Regions from separate parts of the Homo sapiens genome. Here all the other regions are linked to region 2. Evidence: promoter capture Hi-C in 16 types of primary human blood cells and fetal thymus (Javierre and others, 2016). All regions are on one chromosome and are shown on one strand. The core of a region is centred on a gene start or on the middle of the fragment in contact, and the rest is flanking DNA. Distances in the headings are between cores, read along the strand shown. Region 1 holds the start of RARS2 (arginyl-tRNA synthetase 2, mitochondrial). Region 2 holds the start of PNRC1 (proline rich nuclear receptor coactivator 1). Region 3 holds the start of ZNF292 (zinc finger protein 292). Region 4 has its middle 41 kb from the start of AKIRIN2. Region 5 overlaps BACH2 (BACH transcriptional regulator 2).

The links. The method cuts DNA at HindIII sites, captures the fragments that hold promoters and counts their contacts. A CHiCAGO score of 5 or more calls a contact.
Region 1: the fragment with the promoter of RARS2 here is called in contact with the fragment with the promoter of PNRC1 in region 2 in 3 of 17 cell types (total CD8 T cells, total CD4 T cells and fetal thymus); the score reaches 8.4 in total CD8 T cells.
Region 3: a fragment that was not itself captured here is called in contact with the fragment with the promoter of PNRC1 in region 2 in 8 of 17 cell types (non-activated CD4 T cells, fetal thymus, naive CD4 T cells and 5 more); the score reaches 14.2 in non-activated CD4 T cells.
Region 4: a contact is called between a fragment that was not itself captured here and the fragment with the promoter of PNRC1 in region 2, in 1 of 17 cell types (M0 macrophages). The highest score is 6.7, in M0 macrophages.
Region 5: a contact is called between a fragment that was not itself captured here and the fragment with the promoter of PNRC1 in region 2, in 1 of 17 cell types (fetal thymus). The highest score is 5.4, in fetal thymus.

The regions. Positions count from the first base shown.
Region 1 is chr6:87,586,965-87,592,052 of GRCh38, forward strand. RARS2 (arginyl-tRNA synthetase 2, mitochondrial) reads right to left here and starts at 3,023. Exons shown (of 20, transcript NM_020320.5): 1 at 2,958-3,023. The coding sequence starts at 2,993. ORC3 (origin recognition complex subunit 3) reads left to right here and starts at 3,171. Exons shown (of 20, transcript NM_012381.4): 1 at 3,171-3,228. The coding sequence starts at 3,205. RefSeq lists enhancers at 2,153-3,114, 2,878-3,107, 4,488-4,988, 4,989-5,088. The HindIII fragment of the contact is 3,839 bases long and covers 878-4,716 here.
Region 2 is chr6:89,078,958-89,083,919 of GRCh38, forward strand. It overlaps PNRC1 (proline rich nuclear receptor coactivator 1), which reads left to right and starts at 1,794. Exons shown (of 2, transcript NM_006813.3): 1 at 1,794-2,477; 2 at 4,796-4,962. The coding sequence starts at 1,938. PNRC1-DT (PNRC1 divergent transcript) reads right to left here and starts at 1,623. Exons shown (of 1, transcript NR_187250.1): 1 at 1,205-1,623. RefSeq lists enhancers at 899-988, 2,507-3,467 and silencers at 1,419-1,628, 1,679-1,828, 2,219-2,598. The HindIII fragment of the contact is 1,477 bases long and covers 447-1,923 here.
Region 3 is chr6:87,152,960-87,157,974 of GRCh38, forward strand. ZNF292 (zinc finger protein 292) reads left to right here and starts at 2,606. Exons shown (of 8, transcript NM_015021.3): 1 at 2,606-2,800. The coding sequence starts at 2,633. LOC124901355 (translation initiation factor IF-2-like) reads right to left here and starts at 2,288. Exons shown (of 2, transcript XM_047419630.1): 1 at 2,017-2,288; 2 at 1-343. RefSeq lists enhancers at 2,144-2,303, 2,574-2,913, 3,425-4,032. The HindIII fragment of the contact is 3,192 bases long and covers 283-3,474 here.
Region 4 is chr6:87,740,608-87,745,490 of GRCh38, forward strand. No RefSeq gene overlaps it. Among named protein-coding and RNA genes, the nearest start is that of AKIRIN2, 41 kb to the left of the region's middle. RefSeq lists an enhancer at 1,652-1,801. The HindIII fragment of the contact is 1,568 bases long and covers 1,258-2,825 here.
Region 5 is chr6:90,275,591-90,280,514 of GRCh38, forward strand. The region is part of intron 1 of BACH2 (BACH transcriptional regulator 2); the gene reads right to left. Among named protein-coding and RNA genes, the nearest start is that of BACH2, 19 kb to the right of the region's middle. The HindIII fragment of the contact is 423 bases long and covers 2,144-2,566 here.

The sequences.
Region 1 (5,088 bases), core at 1,773-4,272, 1.5 Mb before region 2:
GTGGCACAATCTTGGCTCATTGCAACCTCCACCTCTCAGGTTCAAGTGATCCTTCCACCTCAGCCTCCCAAGTATCTGGGATTACAGGAGGGTGCCACCATGCCCAACTAATTTTCTAATTAGTTTCCCAGGCTGGTCTTGAACTCTTGGGCTCAAGTGATCTGCCTGTCTCAGTCTCTCCAAGTGCTGGGGTTATAGGCATGAGCCACCATACCCAGCTCCTAATCTGAAAATCTGGAATTCTCCAATGAACATTTCCAATTTCCAATTGAGCTCCAATGAACTCAATGAACATTGAGTCTCATGTCAGCACTCAAAAAGTTTCAAATTTTGGAGCATTTCAGATTTCCAGCTTAGGGATGCTCAAACTGTACGGAACATGTTTTTTCTTTGCTCTTTTTTCCCCATGTCCTAACGTATTGAAAATATTATTATTTATCCTCAAGTTTCAGATCATTCCCCAATGACTCTATATTCAGAGAAATACATATATATCTGCATAATTTACACTGCTGTATAAATCCATTAGATTCTGTTCAATGATTGGACTGTGCTTCTTGCTTTCACAAAGAGCACAGTATATAGGAAAGATCTAATTTTAAAGTTAGAGTTCTGTTCATAAACCAACTCTACAATGTATTGATGATGTGGCTTTGGGTAAGTTATTTAATCTCTGTGGATCTCAACTGACTCAATTATATAATAAGGTTAATACTTCTATATCACAGGGTTGCCATGAGCTTAAATGTGAATGTGTAGTAACTAGCACAAATATATACTCAATATATTAGTTCTTGTTTCTCCAACTTATCTTTTTCTTTTTTTTGAGACAGGGACTCACTTTGTCCCCCAGGCTGAAGTGCAGCGGTGCAATCAAAGCTTGCTAGTTTCAGCCACCTGGGCCCAAACGATCCTCCCACCTCAGCTTCCCAAGCAGCTGGGACCACAGGTGTGTGCCACTACACCTAAGTTTTGTTTTTTATTTCTTTATAGAGATGGGGGTCTCCCTATGTTGCCCAGGCTGGTCTTGAACGTCTCAGTTCAAGGGATCCTCCCACCTCGGCCTCTCAAAGTTCTGGGATTACAAGTGTGAGCCACCATGCCTGGTCCAATTTACAGTCTTTACAAAGAACACAGCCTTTGCAAAACTAAACACAATTTGTTTCTCATCATGGCACTATCTTTACTTAAGGGCTAAGAATGGAAAACGTCCACCCTTACACACAGCTTAGATACTAAGGTCCAAAACTACCTTCCCTGATATGGTTTACTGTCTACATTAACATGAATTTATTATTTTTTGTCTTCATTAGCATAACTTTACTGTTCTAGAAGACTTCTGCCCAAATAACTTAATCATTCATTATAAGAACTTCATGAGAAATCTATTAGCTTTTCACGTTTTTTATTTTTATTTTTTGTTTACAGGGTCTCGCTCTGTCACCCACCCTGGAGTGCAGTGGCACAATCATAGCTCACTGTAGCTTCAAACTCGTGGGTCCGTCCAAGTGATCCTCCAGACTCAGCCTTTCAAGCAGCTAGGACTACAGAGGTGCACCATCATGCCTGGCTACTTTTTAAAAAAAATTTTGTTGAGACGGGGTCTACCTATGTTGTCCACGCTGGTCTCGAACTCCTGGGCTCAAGCCATCCTCCCACCTTGGCCTCCCAAAGTGCTGGGATTATAGGCATGAACCACATGCCAGGCCTATTAGTTCTTCCAATAGAAAACCTCAATAGTTTATGCCTTAAGGCTTCTTGCACTCTTTGCTTTTCCTATCAATCTTAAACCGCTGTATCAGATCAGAGTCCAACCCTAATCAAGCCATCTTCCTCCAACACCCTCCTACCCTCTCCCTCTGAAAGACCAGCCTTAAGCCATACCCATCAGTAAAATCTGACCTTGCTTTCCCAGTTTAATACACTACCAAAGCTCTCAGTGGTGTTCTTCCTTATCCCAGTGAGCAATAAATTCAGCTGTCTTAACAAAATGTCATGTTGGTGATATTTGGCGAATTATCACCGGACAGGGCAGTACATCTATAAACATAAAGACAAGGCAGAGGGATTTCCCCACAAATGTCTAGAAATACTGTAAAAATGAGCCAAGATAAATTATACACCAGGCTAATTACGTCCACTAGTACATCCATTAATCAGAAGGAAATGGGTTAGCCAAGACCACAATAGAAAGTTTCCTTGCAAGGGTGGCCAATGAGTCTTAAAAATTCTTTTTGATTAATTCCACATTTATACTGCAATTTTGCCCAGCGCGGTGGCTCAGGCCTGTAATCCCGGCTCTTAGGGAAGCAGAGGAGGGAGGACAGCTTGAGCCCAGGAGTTTGAGGCCTGCCTGGGCAATACGGCGAGACCCCGTTCTCCACAAAAAGGAAAAACAAAACAAAGCAATTATATTGCAATTTTGTAAGCCCTTCCTCACAACAGAGCTGTTCAAATACGACCCTGAACCAAGAAAAACTGAGTCTCAGATAGCTCTTATATCTTTGGGCGTTACCAAAAACAATTCTAGGGTAGGCTGCCTAAGTGACTGCAAGAGAAATAAGCAGCTTTAAAATGAGGTCCTTCTGAAGAACAATCCAGATCCATCATCAATGTCACTAAAGTGTAAAGAACACTAACTTCTATGGGGTCTAATCATGGTCTAATGACTTGCCGCCACCCAGGTAAAGCATTCATAGCTGTGGGGTGGGAAGGAGAGAAGAAAGCACCAGGTACCTTTCAAAGTTTACTTTTCACCGAGACAAACTGATCCCAGCCGACGCTCCACAGGACTTCTGAAGCTCCACCAGCTCCAGAGAAGGGGGAGGAGGTGGTAGAAACTAACAGGATTCCGTGGGACCCACCCTCCAGCTGACTGAGGACTGGCCCGCAGCGGTGAAAGGCCTTTGGGGTCCCTAGCTCCTCAGGGACTCCTCTGCGCGCTCCGGGATCCATACCTGGCAAGCAATAGCGCGGCGAAAGCCGCACGCCATGTCCACCTCTACGGAAGTGCGCCGCAGTCCGCCAGTTCCGGCCTCGCCCCACCTCCTTATACGACCCGCCTCCCCGCGCCGGAAACCCGCCCCGGAGGGTGATGCCAGCCAATCAAGGAGCCGTGTGGCTCGCCACTAACCTCTGCCCTGCAGCCGCGAGGGCGCGCGGGAAATCCCGAGTGCATCTGGAATACGCAGAGTCAGTAAGACCATGGCTACGTCCTCGATGTCTAAGGTATGTGGTGGCCGATGCGCACTGTGGCTCTACCGCTGCCTCATTCCCCTTTGAAGAAGGGATGAAGCCGAGGTTACGTAGGCATCCCTTCCCTGGCTGGAGAGGAGGGAGGGAGCGGCGTACTGAGCTGAGGCGTCCTTGCTCCAGATCAGTTGAGGCCAACTTTGCTTGGGGAGCGAGGACGCGGATCTGCCTTGTGGTATGGCTAGGAGGATTTTTAAGTTCTGGTTGGTGGAGGTCGGATGTCCTGATGATGTGGCCCAGTCTCTCATTTTTCCATCTCACAAATACTGTGCGCCAAGCACTCCGTTAGGTACCAAGATGCAGTGGTAAACAAAACAGATTCAGTTTCTGCAGTCAAGAAAGTCGGTAAACATAGATAAACTGACGATCACAAATTTTAAGTGTTAGCAAGGAAAAGAGTTCTAGGCAGACAACAGAAGAGTGGGAAGAACCTAATATAGGTTGTCGGGGGTTAGCGGAGGCTTTTTGGAGAAAGTGACCCTTTCGCTGAGACCTGAAAAATGAGTAGAAGTTAGGTTAAGGATTAGGGCGAGGAGGGCAGAGAGAACAGCATGTTTCTTCGGCCCAGAAGATAGAAATAAAATGGCATATTAGAGGAATTTAAAAATCATAATCAGAAAGTAGACAAAGAGTGGGAGCGTCATGAAAAATGAGAATGAAAAAGTAATGTGGATGCGGGTGTGTGTGGTGGGATATCTTATAGACCTCCTCATGTTGGCTACCTAGATGGCAAGAAATTGCAAGACATAGTGTAGTTGGTAAGAAGATAAGCCCTAGAGCTGTATTGTCCAATGTGTTAGTCACTCACCACATGTGGCTATTTAAATTTGAGTTAAAATAAAGTAAGATTAAATAAAAATTCAGTTTCTCCGTTGCACTAACCACATTTCAAGTGCTCAATCATCACATGTGGCTGCAGCTACCATTTTAGATAGTGCAGATATAGGACATTTCTATCATTACAGAAAGTTCTGTTGGACAGCGCTGTTCTGGACCACAAAAAGTAAGACCTTGAGTTCTATTGTAAGTGCAGCGGGAAGCCCCTGAAGTTAAGCTGTCTGAGAAAGCTGAAAAATGCACATGAAGAAGCTACATTCTCCCTATGTTAAAACAATGGATTGATGAAGAAGGCTATGTCATGGATCTGATTTTTTATTTTGATTAAAACGGTTTATGAGAAGCAGTGCTTTTAAAGACTACATCTCAAGGAAAAAGGACAAGCCCTGGGGTTTAAGGTTATGCTAGTAGAGATTCAAAGGTAGTATTTTTATTAGAAATGGTACTGGTTTTATTTTGTCCTGGTTATAATGTTCTGTAGGTTTTGAATGGTCTATCCCTTAATCCTGTTGATTGCATAAGCACCTCTTATTTTTATGTATCTTGCAGAAAGTAAGATTTTTCAGGAAAGCATTTTTGGTATTATAACAAATGTCTGTATTGGGATGAGACCTTACATGAATAAGAAGCTTTAAGAACTATTTCATGAATTTATGGAACTGCAAGCTTTTTTTCTTTTTCTTTTCTTTTTTTTCTTGAGACAGAGTCTTGCTCTGTTACCAGGCTGGAGTGCAGTGGCGCGATCTCGGCTCACTGCAACCTCCACCTCCCCGATTCAAGCTATTCTCCCACCTCAGCCTCCCGGGCAGTTGGGATTACAGACATGCCCCACTACACCCAGCTAATTTTGTATTTTTAGAAGAGACAGGGTTTCACCATGTTGGCCAGGCGGGTCTCGAACTCCTGACCTCGAGTGATCCGCCAGCCTCGGCCTCCCAAAGTGCTAGGATTACAGGCGTGAGCCACCACGCCCGGTCCTTAAACATATCAAAACATTTT
Region 2 (4,962 bases), core at 544-3,043:
GCCTGTAATCCCAGCACTTTGGAAGGCCGAGGCAGGCGGATCACGAGGTCAGGAGATCAAGACCATCCTGGCCAACAAGGTGAAACCCCGTCTCTACTAAAAAATACAGAAATTAGCTGGGCGTGGCGGGTGCCTGTAATCCCAGCTACTAGGGAGGCTGAGGCAGGAGAATCTCTTGAACCAGGGAGACGGAGGTTGCAGTAAGCCGAGATGGCGCCACTGCACTGCAGCCTGGCCACAGAGTGACACGCCGTCTCAAAAAAAAAAAAAAAAAAATTAAAACTTTTGTCTTGCAGTACCTGGACTGGAGATCAAATTCTGATGTTAACTTACCGTTTGATCTTTGACAAGTCCTTTAGCCTTTCTAAGCCTGTTTCCCCAGCTGTAAAATGGGAATAAAATACAGTACTGTCCCTCCAAAAAGAAGCTGAGGCAAAATCAGGCCAAGCTTGAGGACTGCAACCCAGGACCATAGATTCAAGCTGCCCTGAATATACACTCGGATTAGCAAGTTACAAGTAGGTTTTTAAAGGAAAAGAGGCAGCTCCTAAATTGTTTACCAATTTACATTAAAATATCGTGGGCTCTTGACTAGCTATACATTGTTCTTTGTATCTTAAATTTCAGAAACTTAAAGATAATGCGTAGGCAGCTAATCAGGAACAAAATGCCTTTAAACAATTGCCCCAGGCATTAGTAGTGAAAGGAAGAGAATGACAGCCTGCCTACTTCGCAGAGCTGAGGTCTGATCTATTTTTCTTAGTACCTATTCGTAAGGGTTGTTGTGAGGTTAAAGTGAGACAATCTATGTAAAGAACAGTTCCTGGAACATAAATGCTTGATAAATTATGGCCACAATTCTTTTTTGTGGTTGAGCAGTGCGGGGAGATCGCGAAAAATTTCTATTTACGCGCAGCTAACAAAATACTCTATGTTGCAGAGCTGTTTCACTTTCTCCCTTTGAGACGCAAGCCGGCTTGCCGCCTCCTCAAGTAACCAGGCACAATGTTCTGATCCCAAAGTCTCACAATCCTTCAAGTATGAAATCAGTAAAAACTCCAACTTCCATTTATGGATTTACGGAGAACTTTTTATACATCGAGGGGCTAATTCAATCAGTAAGTCACTTTGATTTTTACTCTGATCACCGAGACTAATAAGCAGCGATGCCGAACCAAGTAAATGAAAGAATCGTGAGCCATACTTCAGTAGATAAAATTTAAATGTAGACTGATTTTCTTCACGATTGCTAGGGAAGAAATCCTTACAGCGTACTTAGAAATCTTTGTTTTAAAATGATAACGCTGTTATGTTGGGCTGAAAATAAAACGGATACTTCCCCAAGGTCAGCAGCGGAGGAGGCAACCGTGGCCTTGCCAAAGTCATCCCCTCTTCCCAGCCCCCGTTCTTCCTGCCGCCCTCCCCCTGCCCCCTCCCTTCCCCACCCCCATCAACAAACTCCGCCGGGACATTTCAGTACCACCACTCCCTAGCCCGGCGAAGCGCAGGGGCGTGCTGGGGAGGAGTAAAGAGGGTGGGGCGGAAACCCAATTTCATTGTTCGCGGGACCGATTCTTCCCAAAAGAGCTCGCTGGCAGCGCCTGCGCAGTGCGCCCTCTTTGTGCCAGGCTGCAGCAAGCTGGTTGTTTGTGTGTGTCTACCCGAAGCTGCGGAGGCGGAGCGAGGGGGCGTGGCCTGCCTTGTCGCACTCTAATTGGGCTTTCGCAGGAAAGTGGGCGGGCGCGGGGCGGAGCTTCCGATAACAACACTCGGAGCTGGGGCTGTGGCTATTTGTTGCTGCGCCGCCACCGCCCGAGTCATGTTCCGCGATCTTCTCAGGCTCTCCTAGCAGCATCCATCGCCGCCACCCTATCTTCACTGGCTTCATTCACCTTCTCCTTCTCTCTTCGTTGCTGAGCGACAAGCTTCCTAGCGCTATGACTGTCGTCTCCGTCCCGCAGCGGGAGCCGCTCGTCCTGGGTGGCCGCCTTGCGCCGCTTGGCTTTTCCTCCCGAGGTTACTTTGGGGCCCTCCCGATGGTGACCACGGCTCCGCCTCCTTTACCCCGGATCCCGGACCCCCGGGCACTGCCCCCGACCCTCTTCCTCCCTCATTTCCTAGGGGGAGATGGCCCGTGTCTGACCCCCCAGCCTCGCGCTCCAGCAGCTCTGCCCAACCGCAGCCTCGCCGTGGCGGGAGGCACTCCTCGGGCAGCGCCGAAGAAGCGGCGAAAGAAGAAGGTGCGGGCCAGCCCCGCAGGGCAGCTGCCCAGCCGCTTCCACCAGTACCAGCAGCACCGGCCGAGTCTGGAGGGCGGCCGGAGCCCCGCGACCGGCCCGAGCGGAGCGCAGGAGGTCCCGGGCCCGGCCGCCGCCTTGGCCCCGAGTCCTGCAGCCGCAGCCGGCACGGAGGGAGCCAGCCCCGACCTTGCCCCGCTGCGGCCCGCGGCTCCCGGCCAAACCCCCCTCAGGAAAGAGGTGAGGCCGCCAGGGGGCCGTTGGGGAGTCGGGCCCTTAGACGGTCGCGGCCGAGCTCTGGGGCTGCAGACCCTGCACCCGGGGGGTCGGGCGGGTGGGGGCGGGGTGGGGGGGGCGGCTGTTTACTCGGGAGGGAAGTTTCCGTGACGCCCGCTCCATTCTTGCTTTGGGGGAAGAAGGGGGAAGGGGAGGCATGCGCTGGCGCTTCTGATTGGCTCCCAGGAGTCGGCCAATGAGAAGCGCCGCTGCGCCCCAGCAACAGCCCCGATTTAGAAGGCTGGCGGCGTTCCAGGGGGTTTCGGCGTTCCGGGCGCGCGGCGGGGTGGGGGCAGGGACAGGGCCCGCGGGAGGGCTGACGTCAGCGCGCGCTACGTGCCCGGCGCTCCGGCGCCCATGAAGGAGGCGAGGCCGGGTGGGGGCAGCTGGGGAAGGACTGGGCCCGGCTTTCGGCCTCCCGGCTATCGGGAGCCCCAGTCCTAGTCGGTGAAACGCGGAGACGGCCTCTAACGTCCCGCCGTAGGGGGTGGAGTGGGCTCCGAGCGGCTGGGTTTCGTTTGGTTGGAGTTGTGCCAAAATGTGAGGTGCCCGGTGTGGGACGCGCAGTCCAGTTGGGGCTCTGCCCGCCTCGGGCCTGACCTACTTAGTGGTTCCAAGTTAAGAGTTGGCAGGAGCCGCACAAAACTGATTTTATTACTTTTGCCACTGTGGTACTTCGTGTTAGTGTGTCCAGAGTAAGTTTTCAGAAGAGTTAGCAATTGAATTGACTTAGCCCGTCTGATTGCAGTGCTATTGCATTAGGATAAAATGGATAGAAGTTTAAATAGGATTAAGTCTACGAAATGATTTCAAAGTCTTGTCAGAATAACGTTTTATGGACTTAAGTTCAATGACTTAATCTTCGTAATAATGAAATGAAAAAGTTCCCGTTATTTAGTGAAGAATGTTGCATTGAATTAGAGATTTGCGGTTTATCTGTGCCCTTGGGAAAAAATTTGCCCACCTTGTTTCTTTAAATTATCGTCTCAATGTCTCCCTTTTAAAATTCCACGACTTTTGAAATATCCGTGATTACCTAAAAGCTTTTGTGCTTGTTTCCTGGCCTGTTTTCTAGAACAGGTACTAACTAGGGAGCTCTGGCAGTGAACCTTATTGACGTGGAAAGTTGTGGTCCTCTTTCGTGTCGTGTCTTGCTTACTACCGCGTTACAAGTGTTGGTAGTGCAGTGATCTAGTGGATTACCTTACGCTTTTCCATCCTTTCAAGACTTCCTATAAGGCCCACTTAAGTTGGGAAAGATTAAGGTGAGTGAAGCAGCGTTCTTGAAGCAGTTACTAAACCAGAAAGGAGGTACACAGCAAAGATTGTTTCTGGCACTCGTATTTGGAAGAGAGCTCATTAGTCTTCCTTACAGTTGTAGAAAGGTGGACTTGGGTTATTTCAGACTTTTTTTAGTTTGACATTTTAGAACTGGTTCACGTTGCATACTGGTAACTAGCAGTGGTGATTAACTGCATTTTTAGTGGCGAACAAGAGTGAACTTAAAAGTCAAGGGAAATTTAAGTTTTTTGTTGTTTTTTTTTTCTTGAGACAGAGTCTGCCTCTATCGCACTCCAGGCTGGAATGCAGTGGCACGATCGATCTCTGCTCACTGCATCCTCCCCTTCCCAGGCTGAAGGGATCCCGCCTCAGCCAGCCTCCCGAGGCGCGTGTTACCACGCCGGGCTGATTTTTATATTTGTAGTAGACATGGGGTTTCGCTATGTTGCCCAGGCTGGTCTCGAACTCCTTGAGCTTGAGCGATCTGCTTGCCTTGACCTCCCAAAGTGCTGGGATTACAGGCGTGAGCCACCATGCCCAATTAAAGTTTTTGTAATTTTCAGCTTTTATTTTAGATCAAGGAGGTACTTGTGCAGGTTTGCTACATGGGTATATTTCGTGATGCTGAGGTTTGGAGTATGAATGATCCCATTCCAGGTAGTGAGCATAGTACCCAGTAGGTCCCCATCTCTCTCTCAACCCCCCTTCTAGTAGTGCCTAGTGTCTGTTGTTGTTCCCCACTATATCCATGTTGTACCCAGTGTTTAGCTCCCAAATTCACTTGTAAGTGAGAACTTGCGATATTTGGTTTTCTGTTTCTGCATTAATTCGTCTAGGGTAATGGCCCCCAGCTACATACGTGTTGTCACAAAGAACATAATTTTGTTCTTTTCTATGGCTGTGGGCAAACTTAAACACAACAAAACTAGATATGTGATATGAGGTTCATAACTGATTTTTATCTAGAAACTATATTTACTTTTGTGTTCTTGTCTTTGTAGGTTTTAAAATCAAAGATGGGAAAATCGGAGAAAATTGCCCTTCCCCATGGCCAGCTTGTTCATGGTATACACTTGTATGAGCAACCAAAGATAAACAGACAGAAAAGCAAATATAACTTGCCACTAACCAAGATCACCTCTGCAAAAAGAAATGAAAACAACTTTTG
Region 3 (5,015 bases), core at 629-3,128, 1.9 Mb before region 2:
GGACATAAGCACAGAAGTCATGACTTTTCTATGGATAAGATTGAGATTTCTGAGATTTCCAAGACAAGGTTGACCTGTCACGGGATAGTATTTTCAATCCTTCTCATTAAAAAAAAAAAAAAAAAAAAAAGCCTGCACTTATGTAGAGATTCGTTGGACATTCTTGTTAGTATCTGAGATTACTTTGATGTTCTAAGTTGAATACAGGCATGCATTTTCATAATAGAACATTTGTCATATCGTATGTATTCCCATTGCAGATCATTTTCCCACAAAACTGTAAGCTTCTTCAAGGCAGGAAGAGCTTTTATTCGCCTCTGACTTGTCCCAAACCAAGTAGTGCCTGCAAATATCAAGTACACAATAAATGAGTGTTAATTACACCACTCACCCCCAATCCTTACATTTCCTGTAGGCTCTAAATATTTCTATGTGTGTGCAAAGGAGAAGAAATGGAGGAATGTGGACATAGGGTTCACAGATACTAAATAAACATAAAGACATGGCCATCCATGCTGATGGACATTTACCAGATAGTAATGGTGCTCAGAATCAATTTGCTAATCAAGTCTCCATAGTTTTAGGGTTGTTATGTGCAAGAGGTAGGAATGACCTACATTATCAGGCAATTCTCTTAAAAATCAATATCTGGATATATATGTCTCCCACCCCTCAACCCCCATTTTTTCTTTCTTTCTATAGATTAGGTGTGGTGTAAACCATTATACTTGAAGTGGAAATGAGCTTGCTAACCTGTGATACCTTACCTTGGATTTACGGGTACATTTGGCTAACCTCATATTTCCCTTTTTGCATTTTTTCACTGGAATCCTAAGATAACATAAACTGGTGAAACCTGGTTTGGGTATCTAAAATACTTAACTTGGGAAAGTGAACTGAAAATATTAAAAATCATTAGCTGCCTTAATTGTTCCTTTTTCAACTCAGTGATACTATTATATCCTCTCTTCTCAGCCTTTGAATGTACTTCCCAGTCTCTTCCATGAGTAAACATTTGAAGATTAAACATTTGAAGATTCTACCTTGTTAATATGTAATATTAACTGATACTGTTTTTCATAAGGGGTTTAACTGTGCCTGGTCACCTTATATAATGCCGCTTTAAAAACATCACCATCACTGATGCGTTATAAAACATTTATTCTGGACAACATAGTATGTAGAACACTTTCCATTAATTACTAGAAATCTTTTGAAGAGGACGCTGCCCACAATGGGAAGTATTTTTATTTTAGATCCTTGTACTAAAAAAATATACTTCACTCAGAGTAAATGAAAAGACTGGGTGCCTCATCAATATCATTGTTTCTAAATTTCTGTAGACTATTCAGTTGCAAGAGAGATAGGTCTTTTGTCTAATGCTCTAACGGTAAAAAAAATATTAGTTTTATTAAGAACTTTAGGGTTAAGCTCTTGGATTTTTGTAGCACCTCTTCTACTCTTTTGTTCAAGTGCCAAGTATTAATTCTTTTCAGCTTGTAAGTAAAATGTGGTTCAGAATGCTACCTCTATTTGTAGCATTAGGAAAAAAAAATGCTGTAGATATTTATAATAATTCTCGACAATATTGTTTTATTTTAGCATCAATTTCCTCTCCTCCGTTATGATTTTTAATGGAGTCCTTATTGGTGTTTTTTTTTTCCTTGACCTACTTTCTTTTCAATAGCTTTCATATATAGCCTGTTGTCATTGTTGGTGATTTCTGTAGAGTGTAGTAGAGTCTAAATCACGGTGAAACAGAGTAGTTAGTTATCACTTATTCTAGAAATGTTTTCGTGGTTTAAAAGTCATCTGGTCTGTTCATATTCTGACTTCTTTTAAACTATGCTTTTCATGAATTTGCTCCGTTCTCCAGACTGAGGATTGAACCTCATTCTGCTCTGACCCAATTGTTCTTTTCCTTTGTTGCCTCCACCCCCTAGAGAATGTGTTTCCAGGGGACAGGCGTTCTTGGTGCTGAAGAGGAGGAGAGTCAAGTGAGACGAGATCTGGTACCTCACGCACTAGATCCCTCCTCTCCGGCCTGGTGAGAAGTCAGAGACAATTTTGACAGTTCATAGTCCTGCCTTGGCTCTCACGCTTGCGGTCCATGGGCGGGTTTTACCTTCTCTCTCTTCCTCTGCTTCTGGCCTGCTTACAGGCCAACAGCAAATGCAGCCATTGCCCGAGACCACTCAGAACTCTCCCTGTGCCATCCTCTTGGGGAACAGGAGGATATGTCCGTAGAAGACTTCGTGGACTGGGGAAAGCCACGCCGGGATCGGGACGCCGGAGAGGGTCGCCCCTCCCTAGGCTTTTTCCCGTCGCGGCGCCCACGTGACCGAGAGCAGGCCTTCACCAGCCCGCCCCTTTCGGCCGCTGCTGCCCACTTCCCGCTCGGGGTAAGTAAACCGCCGTTTTCCGCACCGCCCCAACCCCGCCCTTCTCCTTTCCCCTTGCCTTCACCTCCCTCGGGCTCTCTCGCGCCACTCTCCCCACCCCCATATCTTCCCCATCGGGCCCTTTGTACGTGCTCGGCGCCGTGCAAGCGCGCCCGGCACGTGACCCCGCCGAACGTGGCATTGTGTTATCACGTGACCCAGGTGCGTACGCGACGGAGCGGGGTGTGAAGATGGCGGACGAAGAGGCCGAGCAGGAGAGGTTGAGTTGCGGCGAAGGCGGCTGCGTCGCGGAGCTGCAGCGCCTGGGCGAGCGGCTCCAGGAGCTGGAGCTACAGCTGCGGGAGAGCCGGGTACCGGCCGTGGAAGCGGCCACCGACTACTGTCAGCAGCTGTGCCAGGTGAGGGCGCCCGGTGGTCCCCTCCCCCTTTCCCCAGCTAGAGGGGGAAGAGGGCGAGCGAGCGCTAGGCGGCCGAGAGGTGGTCGCCGCTTCCTTGGCATCATCGGCGCCTCCGCCTGGGTGGGAGCGGGAGTAGAAGGAAGGCGCCTTTGTGTGGCTGCAGTTGTGGCGGTTGTTGTCGTCTGCAGCTCCTGGCTGGGGGAAGGGAGTTGCGGTCAAGGCGGAAAATCCCCCCTCCCCTTTCCTTCCCTGAACTCGGGACTGCGCGGTCCCCGCGGCTGAGGAAATGTACACGGTGCGGATTGGAGAGAGTAGGAGAATGGAGGCCAGGTTCTCTTCCTCCTCCTCCTTTTATTGTGCACTGGGGATTACCGCGCCTCCCGCCTCTGCGCCTCTGCTTCCCACTCCGACGGGCCTCCGCCCCCACTGGTTTGATTCCTTTGCCTTCCCCTGCTTTCATCCGTCCCGCCCCCCAGCCCCGGCCCTGTCCTGGCTGTCTCCGGGCCTTTGTTGTTCGAGTTTCGCCTTAGGACTGAAGGGGCCTTTGTTGATGTTCGGAGGAGCAGTCCCCGCCGACCCCTTCTAGTTGAGCTAGACGTTCGGGAGGGGGTGCTTGGCGGAGGTTGTCCCCTCCTGCCCATACTTGCTTGCTTGGTGCATCACTTCTGTGGTAAAGCTTTATCTCCTTAGTGTAGAGGAGCTGTGCCTGTACATCTGTCTCAGGTTGAGTGTCCTTTTGGGGCGGTTTTTCCAGAGTCCGTTTCTCATTTGCTTTCGCCCTTCGAGGAGTATGATTTCCACTATCCTTTCTGTCCCGATCACCCCCTCACCCCTGTTTCTTGGAGTCCTTCCTATTTGGCTTCCTGATGAAGTGGGAGAAGACTGAGGTTCATGTGGATCTGTGCTTTGGGTAGTTTCAAATCTTTTCTTTGCTTGCCCAAGGGCACTGCTCACCAGTGACTGCATTCTAACCAGAATTTGGAATGTTAATAACACTGTTTGCTAGTGATGAAAATCATTTCATCCATGGTGAAAATCGGAGAGTTTGGGACTACATTTGCACTTCATTACGAGCCTTACACTTAGGTTTAAAATTTCAAGGTAGTGTTGCTGGCTCTGGTGAAGACTTTGATTTGATTGTCTTGAGGAGGAAAAAGAAGACACAATTTACACAGGTCATATTTAGAGTTAACTTGTGAGTGTATCATTACAGAGAATTCGTTTTGGAAAAATACTGATCTTAACGTAGAACAATGGTTGACCATTTTAGCTGAGTAGATTACATTTTCACTTATTTTTTAGCTTCCAAATATTGAAATATTTTCTTTATTATGTCGGGGATACGTGATCACATACAAAAGAATCTCCGTTGCTGTATGCACTTTATTGTCACAAATTATTTGATGGCTGTTCATAATCTTAAAAACAAAAACTGTGAGATCAAGTGGTGACGTCTAGGAGGATGTGCAATGTGAAAGCTCCCTACTTAGGTAAATAGGTCTGGTGAGTACCTGTGGCAAAATTAAAGTCTCATTCCTTTGAATTTTAATATTTAAAAATTGTTGAAATTTCTCAGTTTCTCTACTTTGCAGTACCCACTCATTCTTAATTGGTCTTTAAAGATTTATTTTAGAGATAAAAAAATTTCTCTAAGATACCCATAATAGGAAGTATTTCATTTGTAAGTCGAATCAGTTTTTATATAATAATCAGTGAAAACTATTAAAGTCTAGCTTTGCTGAAAGACATTTTCCCCTAATAGTGTCCACTGATAGTTTTAAGGCTAATTACTGTAAATTCTTTTTTTGTCAGCAGTATTTGTAAGCAGGATTAATAATTCTGGGAAAATAGAATCTCATGCAAGCTGGACTCCCCCCCGCTTTTTTGTGAGTGTGTGACGTTGTAAAGTTATCACTTAAAGATTTTTATTTATTTATTTATTTTTGAGATATGGAGTCTTGCTCTGTCACCCGGGCTGGAGTGCAGTGGTGCGATCTCAGCTCACTGCAGCCTCCATCTCCTGGGTTCAAGCGATTTTCCTGCCTCAGCTTCCCAAGTAACTGGGACTACAGGCGTGCGCCACCAAGCCCAGCTAATTTTTGTGTTTTTAGTAGAGATGAGGTTTGGGGTTTCACTGTATGTCGGCCAGGCTGGTCTCGAACTGCTGGTCTCGAACTGCTGACCTCAAGTGATCCACCCACCTCTGTTTCCCAAA
Region 4 (4,883 bases), core at 792-3,291, 1.3 Mb before region 2:
AAGTACAGCCTTGTGTCTGTATTTGTATCAGCCTTGTATCTGTACAGCCTTGTATCTGAAGTATTGCTGCCAAGATGTTTAATCTACATTTTTTTTTTTGAGACAGGGTCTCACTCTGCGCCCAGGCTGGAATGCAGTGGCATGATCTTGGCTCACTGCAACTCTGCCTCCCGGGTTCAAGCGATTCTCCTGTCTCAGCCTCCCAAGTAGCTGGGATTACAGGCACCTCCCACCACTCCTGGCTAATTTTTATATTTTTAGTAGAGATGGGGTTTTGCCATGTTGGCCAGGCTGGTCTCGAACTCCTGACCTCAGGTGATCCGCCCACCTCAGCCTCCCAAAATGTTGGGATTACAAGCGTGAGCCACTGCACCCGGCCGACAAATAGTCTTAAAATGGGAATACTTGGCCGACAAATAGTCTTAAAACGGGAATATCTGGCCGGGCGTGATGGCTCACGCCATCTCATAAAACAAAACAAAAAAGAAACTGGAATACCTAATATAAAGGTTTTACTACACAAGAGGAAGGGGAAGATAGCTACAATCAGTATTTTATGAGCACTTACCACACGCTAGGCACCATGCCACGTGTTGGAGATACTGCAATCAACAAGTGGCCCCTGCATAGTGGAATGTACTGTCTGGAGTGAAAGACAGACAAAAACATGCAAACAGACAAATAACACAAATAACATGAGTTTGGAGAGTAATTCCTCTGATGGAAGAAACAAACAAGCACTACGGAGAAGAACAACAGTTGTGATGGTCAGAAAAGGGATCTCCTTGAAGGCACATGCAGGCTGTGTCTTATAAGAGAAGCAGGAGTCAGCCAGAGGGAAGGTAAAGAGAAGAGCTATCTAAACAGAAGCAGCTGTGTGCACAGAACTCCTGGGGGGGAGATGGAATAAGGAAAGCCAATGTGATTCAGGTGTAGTGAGCAAGGAGGACTGTGACACAGGGTGAACTAGAGAAGTAGCTTTCAGGTCACGGCAAAAAATTTAATTTTTTTCCCCCAAAGTGCAGTGAGTAGCCATATTCCACAATATTCTTTTTTTTTTCTTTTCTTTTGTAGAGATGGGGTGTCATTATGTTTCCCAGGCCTGTTTTGAATTCCTGGTCTCAAATGATCCTCCTGCCTTGGCCTCACAAAGTGCTGGAATTACAGGCATGAGCCACTGCACCTGGCCAACGATATTCATTAATTTAAGGAAATTCCACTTTTAAGAATACTTAGGGCATTTGCTAATACACTAAAAGCTTAAGAGTCACAACTACATGTCTTACACTCCAGCCATACTCAACCACTCACTGGGACCCTTTCAGTTCTATTTGGATGCCTCCCACCTGCCAATAGAGCAAATTGATACTCATCTGGGGTATTAGGAATCTATTGCTGTATAACAAATTATCCCAAAAGGTAGTGATCTAAACCAATGATAAACATTTATTACCTCACAGTTTCTGGGGTTGGGAATTCTGAGTGGCTTAGCTGTATGGTTCTAGTTCATGGTCTCACATGCAGTTGCAGTCAAGATGTTGGCTGAGGCTGCAGTCATCCAAAGACCTGACTGGGACTGGAGGAGCCACTTCCAAGATGGCTCACCCACGTGGCTGTTGTGGGCAGGAGGCCTTACTTTCTTGCCATGTAGTCATCTTCATAGATCTGCTTGAGTGTCCTCGTGACATGGCAGCTGACTTCCTTCACAGTGAGTGATCCAAGGAAGAGAGTAAACAGGAAACCATAATGCTGCTGATAACCTCATCTTTGAAGTACACTGTCACTTCTGCCATTTTCTATTAGTGTCACTAGTAGACAGCACAAAGAAGTTGACACCAAGTGCTGTGGCTCATGCCTGTAATCCCAGCACTTTGGTAGGCCAAGGCAGGCAGATCATCTGAGGTCAGGAGTTCGAGACCAGCCTGGCCAACACAGTGAAACCCCGTCTCTACTGAAAATACAAAAACTAGCCGAACATGGTGGTGGGTGCCTGTAATCCCAGCTACTTGGGAGGCTGAGTGTCACTAAGTCCAGTCCACACTCAAAGGGAGGGGAGTTAAGTTCCACCTCTTGAAAGGAGAAGTATCTAAAAATTTGTGAACATATTTTAAAACTACCACATTTGGTGACCCAGCTCAAATGTCATCTTCTATGTGAAGCCTTTCTTGATTTTCCTGAGCAGACCTAGTCATTCTCTTCTCTCAGTTTTCACAGCATGTCATTTCTATTCCTTAAAGCTCTTGTCTTTTTAACTGTAATCAATTGATTTACATGCTTGTCTTTCAACTAGCCTGGAAGATGCTTCAGGCCAAGATAATGTGTTTTATTAATCATTTGTATCCTCAATCTGCTCATTAGTGAAATCCTAGGAACACTACGAAATACTACCTTCCACCACTCCTAACACAAGTTTTTAAAAGATCCCTTCGCACTTAATGCTTTTCTTGCTTTTTCATATTCTTGGTTTACTCTCCCTCTCCCTTCTGAACTAGAAGACAATTTCAAAAATAAGACTGTATTAGTTATCATTTTTAAAAATTCTTTATAATGACAAAGACAATGCTCTGCATTACAGTAATAGATTTTTAAAAGAATTAAATAAGAGAAGCCCCTTTAGAGTTAAAAAAATATTTCTAACTTCTTTAATAATCAGAATATCTAATGGCTATCTCGGTTCTATGTAAACCCTAACAAGAAAAAGATAACCTCAGTTCATAATGCATAAAACATGCAGCACTGAGAAAAAAGACCTCTGAAGTACAGGGGTGTTCTATTCTGTTTTGTTTGCTTCCTTATTGTTTGGGAGAGGAGACAGCTAACAATGAAGCTTTCTTTAGCATTCAGTGGAAAGAACGTCAAGAAATCTTGTTTTTATTTTCTCTTGAAAAATGAGAAGCCATATTCCCTCCCATAGTTACAAAGTATCATCCTGTCCTTGATCTCTGTTTCTAGAATGTTCTCAATTCAGATGGTTTTTATCTAGATTCAGTTGGAGGCCTGGATGGCCTTGGTTCTGATAACTAGAAATCTTGTGACAATCTCAGAAGTCTTCTGGGGCAGATTTCTTTGGTTTTGGGACAAGATTTGACCAGCCCTGAATCTGTGACAGGTCTGGGAGGGGCAGGGGAAGAAATGAGCAGAACCTGGAACAAGGTCTACACCTCCGCCCCCTTACAACTTGACTAGGAAGTTCTTTCTGATGGTCCCTCATTCAAGAGTCAAGATTACTACACATTAAAATTTTAAAAAGACAATGGAAGAGCTCCCAGCAAAATAGCCTATGTGGCAGTTTAGAGGGTGACTTTCTTCTCAAAAAGAGAAAGTGGATGTAAACCAACTCTTCTCCTTTCTTTCTCTGACCTGTAAAGGCAGAACTGCCTGGACAGGACAAAAATGCCTGATTTTACTGAACAATCCTATTTCTTTCTCTTCTTTTCTCTTTCTTTCTTTCCTTCCTTCCTTTCTTTCTTTCTTTTTTTTCAAGACAGAGTTTCGCTCTTGTTGCCCAGGCTACAGTGCAATGGCACGATCTCGGCTCACTGCAAACTCCATCTCCCGGGTTCAAGCGATTCTTCTGCCTCAGCCTCCCGAGTAGCTGGGATCACAGGCGTGCAGCACCACACCCAGCTAAGTTGTATTTTTAGTAGAGACAGGGTTTCTCCATGTTAGTCAGGCTGGTCTTGAACTTCCGACCTCAGGTGATCCACCCACTTCGGCCTCCCAAAGTGCTGGGATTACAGGCATGAGCCACTGTGCCCGGCCATGGACGATCCTATTTCTTTTTTTCTTTTTTTATTTTATTTTTTGAGACAGAGTATTGCTCTGTCACCCAGGCTGGAGTACAGTGGTGCGATCTCAGCTCAAACTGCAGCCTCTGCCTTCTGGGTTCAAGTGATTCTCATGCCTCAGCCTCCCGAGTAGGTGGGATTACAGGCACCTGCTACCATGCTAGGCTAATTTTTGTATTTTTAGTAGAGACAGGGTTTCACCAAATTGACCAGGCTGGTCTTGAACTCCTGGCCTCAAGTGATCCACCTGCCTCGGCCTCCCAAAGTGCTGGGGTTACAGGTGTGAGCCACCACCCTCAGCCTGGATAATCCTATTTCTTTCCTTTTTTTTTTTTTTTGAGACAGAGTCTTGCTCTGTTGCCCAGACTGGAGTGCAGTGGTGCAATCTCGGCTCACTGCAACCTCCTCCTCCTGGGTTCAAGCGATTCTCCTGCCTCAGCCTCACGAGTAGCTGGGATTACAGGTGCACGCCACCATGCCTGGCTAATTTTTGTATTTTTAGTAGAGACTGGGTTTCACCATGTTGGTCAGGCTGATCTCAAACACCTGACCTCGTGATCCACCTGCTTCAGCCTCCCAAAGTGCTGGGATTACAGGCATAAGCCACCACATCCTGGCCGACAGTCCTATTTCTAAGAAGGTGATCCACTCATGCTGAATCAGATAACACAGTAAGCTCACAGTGGGCCCTCAAACAATGGTCATTGCTCTGATAGTTATAATGCTAATGTTGGTTGGGTTCTCTGATACTGGGACACCAGGCTGTGATCAAATCCTGGGGGACCTCTTCAGCAGGAGAGCAAATAGGTTCTGAAGGAAGAGTCAGAGAATCTGGATTTCATGGCATTTATTTGTCCTGAATGCATTCAATTTTTTTTTTCTTTTCTTTTGAGACAGGTTCTCACTCTTTTACACAGGCTGGAGTACATTGACATGATCATGGCTCACTGCAGCCTCTACCTCCTGGCTCAGGTGATTCTCCCACCTCAGCCTCCCTGGTAGGTGGGACTACAGGCACGTGCCACCATGCTCGGCTAATTTTTGTATTTTTTGTAGGGCTGAGGTTTTGCCATGTTGCCCAGGCTGGTCTCAAAC
Region 5 (4,924 bases), core at 1,105-3,604, 1.2 Mb after region 2:
GTCATCCAGGTACTAAGCCTAGTACCTGATAGGTTTTTTTTTTTCTGCTCTTCCCCCTCCTCCCACTCTCCACTCTCCAGTAGGCCCCAGTGCCTGTTGTTCTGGATGGGCGTAGCGGCTCACGCCTGTAATCCCAGCACTTTGGGAGGCCAAGGCGGCCTGAACATCTGAGGTCAGAAGTTCGAGACCAGCCTGGCCAATATGGTGAAACCCAGTCTCTACAAAAAAATTAGCCAGGCATGGTGGTGTGCACCTTTAGTCCCAGCTACTTGGGAGGCTGAGGCAGGAGAACAGTTTGAACCCAGGAGGCAGAGGCTGCAGTGAGCCGAGATCACACCACTGCACTCCAGCCTGGGTGACAGGGCTAGATTTCGTCTTAAAAAAAAAAAAAGAAAGAAATCATCAATGGGCATTAAAGAAAAGTGTAACTTTTAAACCTACTTTCATAGTTCAAATACACCCAGTATTTGGAGGTCAGAGTAGTCACACTTCACTAACTTTATAAAGGAGAGGCTTTCAATAAATGCAAGGAATGTCTACCACAGCAATACATGTGTAAAACGTTTCATCTATGACAGCCATGTTCTAAATTAATGTTATATTTCCTACTCTGAAATAATTTTAATTTATGACTAAAAATGGTAACAAATGTTCTTTTCATTGAGGCCCAAGAAAGTATGAGAGTATTTATTCACATATTCTCATTTCCCATGTAACATGCCTAGGGCCATCCTGAATGAGAGCACAGAAAATGTGAAGGATTTCTCTGCCTAGTCTGCTTAAGATCAACAACACCTATAAGTCTAAACATAAAACACACACCTTTAAATGATCACCATTAATGTTAATAAGCATTAAAGGTAGACACTGAAGTCTTTTGTGTTGGCAAATCCTAGAACTACATTTTCATTCAGACAGGTTGCCTCTGGATAAACGTCTAAGATTTTTTCTAAAAACAAGTTATGGTATTTATAATTGCCTTCTTTAAAAGAATGCAAATTCTTTTGCCTACAGATTACGCTAAGCAAAAGAGTGAGAGAGAGAGGAAATTTCAGTAAAATTTTGAGAACCATAGCTTGCATTATAGATTTTGGAATGTACCTTCCTGCCATTTAACCCAACCCCATTTTCTTATTTCCTAGTAAATACACTCCCCAGTTATTCATCCCTTATTATACCCTGGGACAATGGTCATTTTGGTACCAATCACACCTTAGTTTTCCACTATCACCTGCTAAAAGTTCTCTTGAAGAAAAAAAATATAACTGTAAGAGAAACCTGAGTGATATAACGTCAGTATTTTAACATCCTAACCCTTTCAAATTCTCTCTATATGAGAATTGACTATTTTCATCCTCCCTTGAAAAAATGTGTTCGGGCATTAAAATTCCTCTACCTTGGACCTTTTCATAATGGCTGCCTTAGTATTTATTTTGATATACTATTCAAGACACCAACAGTTTGAGGTTTTCACTTCTTTTCTTGAAGAGTGTCACAAAGTCAAATTTCAGCCTCATCTACAAGACATTTAAAAATTACACTGCTTTCCTGATTTAACTCCTAAATATGCCCAACACAAATAATTATGTTGTTCACCTGAAGATATGTTCTAGAATCTTCACATTGCTACTCATAATGGCCCCAAACTGGAAACTATACAAATTAATAAATAGTGGTATAGTCACACAATATAATACTATATAGCATGGAGAATGAAAAATCAACTACCATAGTCAATATGGTGTCATGCACAATATGAGTTAACTGTGCATATTATCGAGTGAAAGAAGTTAGACACAAAATAGTACATTCTGTATCTCCATTGATATAAAGTTCAAAAACAGGCAAAGCAAATCTATGCTTTCCCAAGTCAGAGTAGTGGCTACCACGGGTGAAGTAGTTACTGGAAGGAAGCCTGAGGGATTTCTAGGGCGCTGATAATGCTGTGTCTTAATCTGGGAACTGGTTACAACAGCGTGTTCACTTTATGGAAATTCGTCAGTAAGATGAATATATGTTATATGCATACTTTTCCCTATTTATATTATCATTCAATTAAAAAGAAATAAAATTAATCAGCTTCTCTTAAGAAACAGACTTACAGGAATGAAAACTAGTGTGTTTCACACAGTAAAATGGAAGAAGCTTAAGAGCTAGGTTCAAATTCCAGACTCTACCATTAATTATTCAATCTTAGCTTCTCTGGCTTCCAGTTCTATAAAATGGAGCCAACAGCAAAGATCAAATGACATAACACTGAAGGCATTTTAAGCAAGAAGAATATACAAATGCTGAGCACTACTGCCTGAAATACTAATAATGTACTTATCCGAGAAGCCTTTAAAGTTACATGGTTCTACACAAAATGTTAGTATAAACATAACTGGCAAGATAATATTATCAGTTTTGCCATTTAAAGAACTTCCTAACAATCAAAGATATGCAACATTTATTCTACCCAAAGTTAAAGTGTCCTGCCCTAACCTCTACTTTGAGACACTTGGTAAATAATTTTCGGAAGAGTGTCAAGATACATAATATTATAGGAGACGATGTCAAATATTAAAGCTTCAATAATAAGTGGACTAGAGAATGATTCTACTCACAGCTCACAGTTCAATCCATCTCTTCTTCTCACTGACTTCTCAACCATTCTGTGCTTTTCCATGTTTTCCTCCTTCTTCCCACTCTACCCTGCCTCCTACCTGGCCATGCCCCCTTTCTCTCTGCCCACTGAAATTCTACCCACTCGTCAGTGCCCAGCCAAGGCATTCCTCTGGTGGGACACCCTTCCAGGCCATGGAGACCTTTCCAGGCCGTGGAGACCTTTCCTTCCTTTGAAGCACTTTTTTTAGTGCCTCAACCGTCTGTTTGCAACAGTCTTGGACCTGAGCATTGAACAGCTATGTATCTCTCAAGCCATGATTTAACAACTCATGTGCTCATATCTTGCTTCCCCAGTAGACTATATGTTTTCCCTAAAGGCAGGGACCTGTGTGATACTTATTTTAATCCCCCTTCAATGCTCTGTACATTGTAGATATTAAATGCTTGCTACCCAGTGCTCTACTTTGTGGGTTCAAGAAAGCAGTAATCTCTAAAAGTAGGGCAAAGGTGCAGACTGGGATTTCTTCAAGTAAGTGGATTCTGTCGGTGGCACCTCATCTCTAAAACTCTCTGTTAAGCTCTGATCTTCTTTTCTCTGAGAGCTCTCAATCACTCTAGACTTTAGAGACTAAATCAGCACTTTGAAATCAAAGTATAAGGTGAACCACATATAATTTTAAATTTCTAGTAGCCACATTAAAAAGTAAAAAGGAACAGGCCAAATGTATCTTAATATTTACTAGTTAATCCTATATATGTAAAACATTATCATTTCAACATGTAATCAACATAATAAAAATTATCAAGGAGATATATATCCTTTTTGTTTGAAAGCTGGTGTATATTGCACAGCACATCTCAACCACATTTCATATGCTCAAATGCCACATGTGGCTGATGGCTACCATACTGGACAGACCAGGTTTAGAGTTCAAGCTAGAATATGTGATTTCAAACCATTCTGAAAAAATCTAAAATCGAACAAACGCTATAGGAATATGCAGTAATCTTCCTAAATCTTGCTCTTAAAAAAAAAAGAATACGGCCAGGCACGGTGGCTCATGCCTGTAATCCCAGCACTTTGGGAGGCTGAGGTGGGCGGATCACCTGAGATCAGGAGTTTCAGACCAGCCTGGCCAACATAGGGAAACCCCGTCTCTACTAAAAATACAAAAATTAGCTGGGCACGGCAGCACATGCCTGTAATCGCAGCCACTCAAGAGGCTGAGGCAGGAGAGTCGCTTGAACCCAGGAGGTGGAGGTTGCAGTGAGCCGAGATCATGCCACTGCACTCCAGCCTGGGCGACAGAGCGAGACTCCGTCTCAAAAAAAAAAAAAAAAAGTCTACACTACTTTATCATTTTATAAAGCCCTCTGTCATACATTATCTCATCTAGATGACATACGTACAGCAAACATTAAGCCATAAAGTAGTTTCTTGGTCCTATATACCAAAAGAACACAGACCTGGTAACACACGCTTAAATCAAATAACTCACAGCCTTAAAGAACATCTATTCATGAGACGTTTTCTCCATTTTTACTATACAGTAAAGCATATTTTATCTCTTATTTTAAGTCATTTAAGAACTTTTTATTTTGGAATTTTATGACTAGCCCTTTAAATATTAGTTTTGCTAGGAACATCAAAAGAACAAGTGACTAATTACATAAAGGGGAAAAGATTAAATGAATCATGGATTCCACTTGAACTTCATCAGTTAAAAGGATAATTAGCAAAATATTTAAGGAAAAAGTAAATGAGCTTGTTAGTCATGGCCTTTTGAGGGGAAAAAGGTAAAACTATTTTACTTGCCTGATCTCAGATCTAGAATCTAAAAGATAAAGAGGTATTGTGGAGAATCATTATAAAATACTCAGACTTCAAAGGTTCCCATAAGGTCAAAATATGGACTATGTATAAGAAGAAAAAATATGCTAAATATAAAATCAATGTATTAATGAGATATATTTATTTAAATATCCCTTTTGAGTATTCTTAACAGGTATTCAGAACCCTAATCTGCTTTTGAATTTTCAATGAATATAAAAGAAAAATTTGAAGACATTAATGGAGAATTTTAAAGCAAGAATCTAATCCTGTATGTTAGAAAGAAGAAAATACAACGTTATGTAATATTTTAATTCTTATAGGTGCCCAAATACATAAGCAACCTAACTTTGACATCGGGGGAAACTGGACAAATCCATTTAAAACTAATTTAGCAACAAATACTTACATGGTTCTGTGGACATGTAACATCCCAAGGTGTTTTAAATTGATAATGTCACCATATGAACTGATAATTTTCAGTTG